Linked DNA regions of Homo sapiens: region 1 is linked to region 2. Evidence: promoter capture Hi-C in 16 types of primary human blood cells and fetal thymus (Javierre and others, 2016). All regions are on one chromosome and are shown on one strand. Each heading gives the region's core, a stretch centred on a gene start or on the middle of the fragment in contact. The rest is flanking DNA. Distances are from core to core; before and after follow the strand shown. Region 1 holds the start of ZBTB8OS (zinc finger and BTB domain containing 8 opposite strand). Region 2 holds the start of SRSF4 (serine and arginine rich splicing factor 4).

Evidence for each region. The method cuts DNA at HindIII sites, captures the fragments that hold promoters and counts their contacts. A CHiCAGO score of 5 or more calls a contact.
Region 1: a contact is called between the fragment with the promoter of ZBTB8OS here and the fragment with the promoter of SRSF4 in region 2, in 2 of 17 cell types (non-activated CD4 T cells and total CD8 T cells). The highest score is 5.4, in non-activated CD4 T cells.

Annotation. Positions count from the first base shown.
Region 1 is chr1:32,645,551-32,651,799 of GRCh38, reverse strand. It overlaps ZBTB8OS (zinc finger and BTB domain containing 8 opposite strand), which reads left to right and starts at 1,250. Exons shown (of 7, transcript NM_178547.5): 1 at 1,250-1,367. The coding sequence starts at 1,271. It overlaps RBBP4 (RB binding protein 4, chromatin remodeling factor), which reads right to left and starts at 592. Exons shown (of 12, transcript NM_005610.3): 1 at 478-592. The coding sequence starts at 493. RefSeq lists enhancers at 1-43, 204-792, 793-1,380, 2,514-2,653 and silencers at 344-913, 4,170-4,239. The HindIII fragment of the contact is 3,350 bases long and covers 895-4,244 here.
Region 2 is chr1:29,178,939-29,184,810 of GRCh38, reverse strand. It overlaps SRSF4 (serine and arginine rich splicing factor 4), which reads left to right and starts at 2,911. Exons shown (of 6, transcript NM_005626.5): 1 at 2,911-3,165. The coding sequence starts at 3,059. It also overlaps a transcript of MECR not described here. RefSeq lists enhancers at 1,583-2,220, 2,563-2,792, 2,221-2,858 and silencers at 2,863-3,072, 3,123-3,312. The HindIII fragment of the contact is 7,304 bases long and covers 1-5,872 here.

The DNA.
Region 1 (6,249 bases), core at 1-2,500, 3.5 Mb before region 2:
AAATCCCCACGGCAGAGGCATCCACACTCTCCACTTTCGCGGCGCCGAAACTCCTCGGGCCATCCCCGCCAAACACTCCGTTACCCGTTCCAGGCCAAGGGGCCAGCCAGGCCTTCGGAGCACGCTCGTGCGCGCCGAAACTCACAAGCCCGACGAGGAGGCCCGAGCTCCGAGCCTTGTGGGTAGGAAGCGGTGTCCCCACGCTCGGGACAGAGGCCGAGAAACCGATATCGGAGGCAGGAAGAGAAACAAACACTGGCCGGGGGCCCCACCGCTGGCTTCGCCAGCTGCGACCGAAATCGGTCCCAGGGAACTGGCGAGCCGTTAGCACGCCCCGCGGGGAGTTCCCTCTTCACGCCTTCAGTACCGGGGACTGCACTCGGCAAACTCGGGCCTGCCCTCACTGTTAGGCCATGTCGAGGCCGCGGCTCAGCCCAGGCACCCACTGCCCTCCTGGGTCGGCCCCGGCACCCTCACCTTCCTTGTCGGCCATGGCGGGCAGGCGAGCCGGGGGAATCCTGGGGTCGAGCGTTGCGGGAGGGGCGGGGAGGCTGCAAGAGCTCGCTCTGTGCGCGCGGCCTCTATTGTTTCCTGCGCCCCCAGCGCGAGGGCTGACTCGCGCACCTTCGCGCCAACATCAGCCAATGGGAGCGCTCCTAATGGCGGGATGGGCGGGGAAGCCGCGTTCGCGACCAATCCAGACGCGCGGAGTAGCTTTCCGCGGGGACCGAGGCGCGCGCTCCGCCCCTCCCCCCACGCCTCCCCGAGCCGACTTCCAGCGATTGCGCGCGCCGGCGTTGACGGGACTGCGCCCGGTCAGGGTCACGTGAGAGAGGTTTGGTCCGCACACTCCCGCGGCAAGAGGGCAGCCATTTTCTTGAAGGCTATTAAGCTTACGACCCTTTCAGAGTACTGAGATGAAAAATCTAGAATGCCTTCGGGTCTAGTTATCAATTTTGGGGGTGAAGCGGGGGAAAGAACCTCGCCAGTCAGACCCAGACGGGTTTCATTCAAGGTGCCCTTCAACGTTTTTCCTTAGTCTTTGGAAAGAACTAGTAATGAAGGAATCGCAGAAGATGGGGTTTTGGCTTTTTAAATATGCGATCCAAGCGGCAGGGTAGGGACTAAAGTAGGTCAACAGCCAACTCCGAGAAAGGAGTGTGGTCCTTTAAGGGTGTGCGCCAAGGGGCGGAGTCTAGAGCGGAAGTAGTAACTCCGGGCCGAAGTCCGGTGGATGAAGGGCGGAAGTAGAGTGTCTAATCCTGCAGTCATGGCGCAGGAAGAGGAAGATGTTAGAGATTACAATTTGACTGAAGAACAGAAGGCGATCAAGGCCAAGTATCCGCCAGTCAATAGGAAGTACGAGTGTGAGTAGGTGGCTTACTTCTCTCTTTACATGTAAGCACACAGGCATCCCCTCTCCTTACCCGCGGCTTCCTGCTGCTCTTTCTACTGTGCCCCATGGGTACTTCAGGCATGATCCCATTTGTGCCGGCTGTTGTAGTCGCGTTCGTACTTCTCCTGGGGATGCTGAAGGAAAAAGCCACCTGGTTTAATAGTCGCGAAACCTGGCCTCCCTCATTTACAGTCTCTTGAACTTCTTCCACATGTGCCTAATCACATTTATCTTCGTAAATTCTAAAGATAACCATATTTTCAGGCGTTTGCAGGGTTGTTACCCCCATGTATTTCCCAACGGTGAGATTAGAGTGTGCGAGGTTAGAGGACTCGGAAAGCTAATTAGGGGATTTCTAACTTGATGTTTCACCTCGATCATATTAGCAAAAAACCTGGTTTTGCCATTTATGATTGTGATTTTTAAAAATGATTATTTTAGGCCGGGCTCGGTGGCTGAGGCCTGTGATCCCAGCACTTTGGGAGGCCGAGGCGGGCGGATCACCTGAGGTCGGAAGTTCGAGATCAGCCTGACCAACATGGAAAAACCCCGTCTCTACTAAAAATACAAAATTAGCTGGGCGTGGTGGAGCATGTCTGTAATCCCAGCTACTCGGGAGACTGAGGCAGGAGAATCGCTTGAACCCGGGAGGCGGAGGTTGCGGTGAGCCGAGATCGCCCCATTGCACTCCAGCCTGGGCAACGAGCGAAACTCTGTCTCAAAAAAAAAAAAAAATGTGTGTGTGTGTGTGTGTGTGTGTGTGTGTGTGTTTTTAGAGATGGGGTCTCGCTCTGTCGTCCAGGCTGGAGTGCAATGGAGCGATCATAGCCCGCGCTGCAGTGCCCAGCTGGTTTTGCCATTTATTCGCTTAGTGACTTTAGGCAAATCACATAACCTATCTTTGTCTCTTAAATTCTATATTAAACGTTAAGCTGTCATCCCTAAAGGTAGCTGTGGTTTGGGGAGCACAAATCTGACTTTTATTTATCTGCTTAAAATCTTTCATTAATTTCTCATTGTCCTCTCTGTAAAATCTACTTATTTACCATAGTATTCTAGGCAATGTGCTTTCTGGAGCTGGCATACCTCCTAGCATATCCCCTTCTCTCACTTAAAAACAATTTTAAAATATTATAGGCCGTTTGCGGTGGCTCACACTTATAATCCCAGCACTTTGCGAGACTGACGTGGGTGGATCACCTGAGGTCAGGAGTTCCAGACCAGCCTGGCCAACATGGTGAAACCCCGTCTCTACTAAAAATACAAAAATTAGCTGCGCATGATGGTGGGCGCCTGTAATCCCAGCTACTCGGGAGGCTGAGGCAGGAGAATTGCTTGAACCCAGGAGGGTGGAGGCTGCAGTGAGCCGAGATCACACCACTGCACTCCAGCCTGGGCAACAGAGTGAGACTGTCTCAAAAAAAAAAAAAAAAAAAAAAAGGCCTGGTGCTGTGGCTCACGCCTGTAATCCCAGCACTTTGGGAGGTTGAGGCGGGTGGATCACCTGAGGTCAGGAGCTTGAGATCAGCCTGGCCTGGCCAACATGGTGAAACCCCATCTCTACTAAAAATACAAAAATTAGCTAGGCATGGTGGTGGGTGCCTGTAATCCCAGCTGCTTGGGCGGCTGAGGCAGGAGAATCGCTTGAACCTGGGAGGCGGAGGTTGCAGTGAGCCGAGATTGCACCACTGCACTCCAGCCTGGGCGACAGAGCCAGACTCCATCTCAAAAAAAAATTATTTTTAATAGGTCATATATATTGATTTGAAATTCAGAAAGTGTAACATAGGCAGTGAAAAGTAACTCTGGCAGCCCCCATCCTCAACTACCTAGTCCCCCTCTGTAGAGCAGTCATCGTTACCTTTTTCTTACATGTACATACCTAGATGTTCTAGCATTTGCTTTAACCAATTTTCAGTTGATGGACGTTTAGGCTATTTCTACTCTTGTGGTATTAGAAACAGTGCAGCAGTGAATACACTTGTACATCCACTGTTTTGTACATGTGCAAGTGAATCTGTAGAATCAAGTTCTCCAAGTTTTTTTTGTTTCCATTGCTAAGACTCCTACATTTTTTAAAAGGATATTTTAACTTGGACAGTTATTGCCAAATTGCTCTCTATAGGAGTTGTACCAATTTATACTTTCACTAGTATTGTGTGAATGTGCCTCTTTCCTCCCACTTCTACTAATTGTTACCATACTTTTTTATCTTTTCTAATTTGTAAAGTATACTTACTGTATTTTTCTTATTGTAAGTGAAGTTGAACATATTATACTGTTTTGGAAGCTATTTGTATTTCCCATTCTGGGGTGTGTATGTTAATATTCTTAGCCCTTTTTTCTCTTGGGTTATTTTTTTTTTGTCTTGGGTTGTTGGTTTTTCTTACTAGGCAGAAAGTGTTTTTATGCAATGCAGTTCATTAACCAGCGGTCCCCAACCTTTTTGGCACTAGGGACTGGTTTCACGGAAGTCAGTTTTTCCACCAACGGGGGTTGTAGGGGAGGATGGTTTCAGGATGATTCAAGCGCATTACATTTATTGTGCATTTTATTTCTATTATTATTACGTTGTAATATATAATGAAATAATTATACAACTCACTGTAATATAGAATCAGTGGGAGCCCTGAACTTGTTTTCTTGTAACTAGATGGTCCCATCTGGGGATGACAGATCATCAGGCTTTAGATTCTCATAAGGAGCACACAGCCTAGATCCCTCAATGTGCAGTTCACAATAGTGTTCAAGCTCCTATGAGAATCTAATGCTGTGCCTGATCTGAAAGGAAGTGGAGCTCAGGCAGTAATGTTAGCAATGGGGAGCTGTTGTAAATATAGAAGAAGCTTTGTGAGCTCATGTCCTGCTGTGCTGCCTGGTTCCTAACAGGCCACCAACTGGTACTGGCCAGGGGGTTGGGGACCCCCTGCATTGACCCTTTCTTTCTTTTCTTTTTTTTTTTTTTTTGAGACAGAGTCTCGCTTTGTCATCCAGGTTGGAGTACAGTGGCATGATCTCCAGTCACTGCAACCTCTGCCCCCCAGGTTCAAGTAATTCTTCTGCCTCAGCCTCCTGAGTAGCTGGGACTACAGACATGCACCACCACACCTGGCTAATTTTTTTTTTTTTTTTTTTTTGAGACAGAGTAGCTGGGATTACAGGTATGCACCACCGTGCCTGGCTAATTTTGTATTTTTAGTAGAGATGGGGTTTCTCCATGTTGGTCAGGGTGGTCTCGAACTTCCAATCTCGAACTTCCAATCTCAGGTGATCCGCCCGCCTCGGCCTCCGAAGTGCTGGGATTACAGGCGTAAGCCACCACGCCTGGCATTTTTTTTTTTTTTTTTTTTTTTTTTTTTTTTGAGACAGTATCTTGCTCTGTCTCCCAGGCTGGAGTGCAGTGGCACCATCTCAGCTCACAGCAACCTCCGCCTCCTGGGTTCAAGTGATTCTCTTGCCTCAGCCTTCCGTATGGCTGGGATTACAGGTGCCCACCACCACACCCGGCTAATTTTTGTGTTTTTTTTTTAGTAGAGACAGGGTTTCACCATGCTGGCCAGGATGGTCTTGAACTCCTGACCTCAAGTGATCCGCCCACCTGAGCCTCCCAAAGTGCTGGGGTTACAGGCATGAGCCACCACTCCCGGCCAACCCTTTTTTTTATGGCTTCTAAGATAAGAAGTCATACTCAGGGAATGCCTTGTCCACTGAGATTTTAAAATAATTTTCCTAATTTTTTTTTTATACATTTGAAAATAGAACTTTTGGCCGGCGGATCACGAGGTCAGGAGATTGAGGCCATCCTGGCTAACATGGTGAAACCCTGTCTCTACTAAAAATACAAAAAAATTAGCCGGGCGAGGTGGCGGGCGCCTGTAGTCCCAGCTACTCGGGAGGCTGAGGCAGGAGAATGGCGTGAACCCGGGAGGCGGAGCTTGCAGTGAGCCGAGATTGCACCACTGCACTCCAGCCTGGGCAACAGAGTGAGACTCTTTCTCAAAAAAAAATAATAATAAAATAAAAAACTTTAATTGAATAACCTGGAATTAGATACCAAGAAAAAAAAATCTTTTTTTTTTTCCCTGAGACAGTCTCATTCTGTCACCCAAGCTGGAGTAGTGCAGTGGTGCGACTTTGACTCACTACAACCTCTGCCTCCTGGACTCAAGTGATCCTCCAACCTCAGCCTCTTGAGTAGCTGGGATTACAGGCGTGCACCATCATACCCAGCTAATTTTTCATTTTTAGTAGTGATGGAGTTTCACCATGTTGGCCAGGCTGGTCTCGAATTCCTGACCTCAGATGATCTGTCTGCCTTGGCCTGCCAAAGTGCTGGGAGTACAGACGTGAGGCACTGCACCCAGCCAAAATACATCTTTTATTGAAGTATGATGTACTTATAGAAGAGTGCCCGTGTCATAAGTGAATTTTCAGAAACTGAGTACACTTGTATAAGTAGTATAATAGTTCTCAAAATGTAATCTCTGTATTCCTGGGGTTCCCTATATCCTTCCAGAGGGTCTGTGATGTCAAAACTATTTTCATAATAATACTGAGGTGTTATTGTTTTCACTGTGTTGATATTTGTACTGGTGGTACAAAATCAGTGGTTGGTAAAACTGGCCCCAGCCTGTAGTCCCAGCTACTCCAGAGGCTGAGGTGGGAGCATCACTTGAACCCAGGAGTTTGAGACTCGGCTTGGTCTTTTGGAGCTATAATTGTACCACTGCACTCTATCCTGGGCTACAGAGTAAGGCTGGGCTCTATCTTTTGGAGCTATAATTGCCCCCACTGCACTCCATCCTGGGCTACATAGCAAGACTCTGTCTGTGAAAGAAAAAGCAAAAACAAAA
Region 2 (5,872 bases), core at 1,662-4,161:
CAACGAGACTCCATCTCTAAAAAAGTAGAATAGGCTGGGCGCTGTGGCCTGTTTTTGAGATGGAGTTTTGCTCTTGTCACCCAGGCTGGAGTGTGATGGCACGATCTCGGCTCACTGCAACCTCTGCCACCTGGGTTCAAGCAATTCTCCTGCCTCAGCCTTTTGAATAGCTGAACTACAGGCCCACACAATCACACCTGGCTAATTTTTTGTATTTTTAGTAGAGATGGGGTTTCCCCATGTTGACCAGGCTGGTCTTGAATCCCTAACCTCAGATGATCCTCCTGCCTCAACCTCCCAAAGCGCTGGGATTACAGGCGTGAACCACCGCACCCAGCCACTAATTATTACTTTCAAAATAGATTTCTTGCCGGGCGCGGTGGCTCACGCCACCTCACCTGAGGTCAGGAGTTTGAGACCAGCCTGGCCAACATGGTGAAACCCAGTCTCTATTAAAGATACAAAAAAATTAGCCAGGCGTGGTGGCACATGCCTGTAATCCCAGCTACTTGGGAGGCTGAGGCAGGAGAATTGCTTGAACCTGGAGGCAGAGACTGCAGTGAGCCAAGATAGTGCCACTACACTCCATCTTGGGCAACAGACCAAGACTCCATCTCAAAAAAAAAAAAAAAAAGCCGGGTACAGTGGCTCACGCCTGTAGTCCCAGCACTCTGGGAGGCCGAGGCAGGCAGATCACGAGGTCAGGAGATCAAGACCAGCCTGGCCAACATAGTGAAACCCCTTCTCTACTAAAATACAAAAAAATTAGCCGGGCGTGGTGGCAGGTGCCTGTAATCCCAGCTACTCTAGAGGCTGAGGAAGGAGAACGCTTGAACCCAGAAGGCGTAGGTTGCAGTGAGCTGAGATCGCACCGCTGCACTGCAGCCTGGGCGACAGTGCGAGACTCAGTCTCAAAAAAAAAAAAAAAAAGTAGAATAAATAAAAATTTAAAAATAAAATCCAGAATCAAAGAAAAATAAAGGATGGATAAATTGATCCCATAAATATCTAATGTTTTTGCATGGCTAAAAAACACTCTTGGCAAAGTCAAAAGTCAACAAATGGAAAAAATATTTGCAACTCATTTGACAAAGAGCTGATTTTCCTAATATATAGTGAGCACCTATGAATAAGAAAAATGGGTAAAGGATATACACAGACAGAAATAGGAAAATATATCTCAAACATATGAAGAAAGACTCATATCTCTGCAAAATATGATATTTGCAAATTAAACCACTTGGAGATAACATTTTTCACCTCTCAGATTGGCAAAGATCAAAAAGTTTGATAACACGGTGTTGATGAGGATATGAGGAAACAGCCACTTAAGGGGAATTGAGCAATAACTTATCAAAACTCTGACCCAAATATCCTATTTCTAGGAATAGATGATATATATAGAGAGAGAGAGAAAGAGAGAGAGAGAAATGCAAAGTTACTGCAGCAGTGTAATAACAAAAGGTTGGAACTTATTTCAATGTCCTTCACCAGGGCACTGGCTAAATAAATTACTGTGTATAAAATGGTATGAACCATAAAACTAGTCCTTTTATACTCTTAAGGAATGATTTTCAAAATATATTTTGTGTAGAACCATATGTATAGTATCCTACTATTTGTTTTATAAGGGTAAATTAACCTCCTAAAGGACATTTCAGAAACTGCCTCTGGGAAGAGAAACTAAGTGGCTGGTGGACAGCGAAGACTTTTCACTGTGTATCATTTGAACCTTGAGTTATCCTTTCAAAATATTCAAAAAACAAAAACAAGCAAAGAAACAAAACCCTTTATGGTTCTAGGTACATGGCGTTAGTGAGAAGGGAACCAATATTTATTGAGCTCTTACCATGTTTCAGACACTGTTCCAAGTACTTTCACATACACTACCCCATTTAGTGACCTGTGTAATCCTTGAGATGGGTATACATTATTCTAATTTTACAGGTTAGAAAATAGACTGGATAGGCCAGGCGCAGTGGCTCACGCCTGTAATCCCAGCACTTTGGGAGGCCAAGGCGGGCGGATCACCTGAGGTCTGGAGTTTGAGACCTGCCTGGCCAATATGGTGAAACTTCCTCTCTCCTAAAAATACAAAAATTAGCCGGGCGTGGGGGCGGGCGCCTGTAGTCCCAGCTACTCTGGAGGCTGAGGCAGGAGAATCGCTTGAACCCGGGAGGCGGAGGTTGCAGTGAGCTGAGGTCGCGCCACTGCACTCCAGCCTGGGCGACCGAGCGAAACTCGTCTCAAAAAAAAAAAAATAGGTTGGATTGTGGTCAAGTAATTTACTCGGCGTCATGCCTAGTCTAGCTCCAAAGCTCCAGCCTTCTCCGCTTCTCACACTGCTTCTATTTAAGCAGTGTCCTCTTAAAAATAATACTGGTCTCATTTATTGGGCACTTGATATGACAAAACTACTAAGTGCTTTATGTACGTATTCTCATATAATTCTCAAGACAACTCTGGAAGGTAGGAACTACTCTCCCCCTTTTACAGAAAAGATAAAGGAGGGTCCGAGACATCGCGCGTAACAAGCCCAAGGTCACGGGTACACAATCGTTTGGAAGCTAGGTTTGATTCCAAAGCTCCAGCTCCGAAATCCAAACCACACCCGGTTCAAAGGACAAAAGCACAAACGCTCGCTCGCTGGGCTCTAGGAGGTGCGGACACTTCCGGGGGAGGGGCGAAGCCAGCTGGCTGCGGAAGGCGGTGCAGGAACCCCTTTGGCGAGCTCGCGCGAGGACGTGCCGCAGCGCCGCCTGTCGATCACCTTGCCCCGCCGCACGTCGGCGCGCCCCCGGGCAAGCTCCTCCCCCAGTCCTGGCCGAGCGGGAAGCGAACGCGCGCTCTCTCCGGTTACCTTCCGCCTCGGGGAAGGGCGGGGGAAGTGGAAGCGCGCGCTCGCGAGCTGCGTGCTCGCGTACGTCGCCGGGGTTCGGCTGCGTCCGTCCCGCCGCCCGCCCGTTGCCGCCGCCGCCGCTGCCGCCGTGCTCTCGCTTTGCCCGCCGCCGCCTAAGGGGGGCTGGGGCCGGGGCCAGCCATCACTGCCGTTGCCGGGATGCCGCGGGTGTACATCGGCCGCCTGAGCTACCAGGCCCGGGAGCGCGATGTGGAGCGCTTCTTTAAGGGCTACGGGAAGATCCTGGAGGTGGATCTGAAGAACGGGTGAGGAGGGCGAAAGAGGGTCCGGCCGGGCGGGGACAGACCCCATAGGTGGTGGGGAGGCCGCGGGGACGGGAGAGGGACGCCTGGTCCGCGCGGAGCGGCTACCGGCCTGGCCAGGCTCCGCCATAGTGGCGGCGCCTCGGGGGCGCGGGTAGGCCCCGGTTCCCACTGCGCCTGCGCGGGTGGGGGTGGTGGAGGCATAATGGGAGCTGTGCTGAGGCCCTGAGTGGGACGGGGAGAAGGAAAGCCCGAGTGGGGCTGGTGCTCCGGGCAGGGGGGCACAGCTCCAGGGCGCCCGGGAGACCTGGGTTTTCCCTTCCTAGGCCCGGAACTGGGGCCCTATTCGTTTCTGGGTAGACACCAACCTTTCCCGCTCTGAGGACTACTGGAAATAAACAGGATTTCCTGCTCCCTTTCACCTCTTGCCCGGTCTCATGGATCAGACGGTCACAGCGCCGTCTTCCCCGAGGACTGGAGCCTTGGAGGGAGGCCCTTTTTAGCCGTGTGCCACGCTTTTTTGGGCGGGAGACTCCAGTTTGAGTAGTCTAGTGACAGTTTCGAAAGTATCGTCTTGCCGTGCTGAAAGCCTTCACCGTTCCCTCTGCAAGAGTAAATTAAAGTCTTAACTTCTTATCTTTAAGACTCCGTGCAGAGTTTCCACGCTGTGGTTTCCGTTTTCCAACTTACCGAAAAATTGCTTGGCCGTTGTAGAATTTGTTAGGAGAATAGTGGCCACCCTGGCTAGTATCTGCGTCTGGTTAACGCAGACGGAGACGAAATTGTTAACTTACTGCCTCCCCCAGAGTATGATCTATTACTTGTATTCTTAATCTACTTCGGCAAAAATAGTGCCAGCATGAGCTACAGGTTTTAGGGAAAACTGTTGAGGAATCAGGCCTGGAGAAAATACTCAACGGGGAAAACTGGGAACCAGATGTTAGGTAGGGCTTGGAAGGCATGGATATAAAATTAAAAGGACTGGGGTGACATTTTAGGGCACTAAACCTTGGGTGTTAGAGAACTCTTGGCTTAAAAAAGAAACTCTACTTTGCAACAGTTGTAATATAGCTACCGTTTACTCCCCAGGGTTATACTAGTAACTGACACCTGAAACATTTTGAAAGTTACCTAAGTATGTTTCACGTATGAGAAAACTGGTAGCTACCGTATTCTCAAATGATGATTTGGGTTTAAAAAGCCATTTCAAATTAATTATTAGAATCGTTTTCTTTCTGAGGACGTCTTTAGTAAAGTACTGATTTCTTTTACAGTAAAAGGCTTTAAAAACTACTCCTTTTCTACAGTAAAACGTTCAGTTCTTAAGGATATATTGAAGTGGCGGGTAGACGTTATTGTATACATACCATATATGTGAAAGTTGAAACTCCAGTTTTTTTCAGAGCCCAGCTAAATTGACAGCATAACTAACTTTTGTGGACAAAGTGTGGATTTTGAAGCCAGCCAGGCCTAAGTCAAATCCTGGTTCCACCACTTACTACGTATGGGCAAGTTACTTCTCTGAACCTGGTTGTTCATTCATGTGGAAAAGGAAGATTAGAGATAATAAATGTAAAGCATTTGGCTTAGGCAGTAAGTGGCAGCTATAATCAGAGGGATGAGGAAACATCTTTGCTTGTTGGTGTTTGATAACATAAAGCGTGTTTGGTGAGGTCTTTTCTAATGTTACTCAGGTGATAGTGTGCAGGAAATGACAAGACTGTTAATGGGAAACTGATTCATCAACCAAATGTATTGATAACCCATCAACAAAATGTCCACCACTGTGCTAAATGAATTGGGGGAGGAGGCAGAAAACAGTTCTGCTCTTGAATAAATTAAGCATTATGACATGTGCACTTTGAATTAAGAAATGTTTGCTTTCGCTTTAAACTCTAGTAAAACTTGGAATGATTTGCTTGAAAAGATGTGTTGAAATGGCTTTGAAGAATAGATTAGAGCTTGAAGTGAAGAAATTTAGGTTTCTGGGAATAGTATATGTCGTAGTTGGGGCTCAGGCATGGTGACTTGTGCCTGCAATCCCAGCTGAAGTGTGAAGATTACTTCAGGCCAGGAGTTTGAGACCAGCCTGACCCCATCTCTAAGAAAAAAATTTTTTTAATTAGCCACGCGTGGTGACACTCGCCTATAGTCCTAGCTACTTCAGAGGATGAGGCAGGAGGATCACTTCAGCCTAGGATTTCAAGGCTACAGTGAGCTATGATTGTGACACTGCACTCCAGTCTGGGTAACAGCAAGACCCCCATCTCTAATAAAATAAGTACAATGCTGACTTTTTTTGCTTTTTGATGAATAGGGAAAAAATATTTTTTTAATGTCATAATTGGTGTTGAAGACATGGTCCAGTAAGAAGCAATTATGAAAAATAATAAACAATCTAGCATGGATCAAGCCTTATGAAGAATCTAGAAATTTAACAACATAAACCAGAAACAACGACTATTAGATTTTACACTAAAAATTCGAAATCAATGAGTAGGAATTCAAAGGCTCTGGAAGGAAGAAGTGAGCAACCCAAAAGGAAGATGGAGCGATAAGAGGAAAGAGCCTTTCAGGACCCTAAATACCTGGGTGGTTTTTTTAAGGAACTGTTCATTCTTACAGTTATGCTGCCAAACCATGATATGCATGAAATGTCATTGAAAGTCAAGGTTGAAATGAAGTCATTTTAGAGTTTCAAAGACAGGTA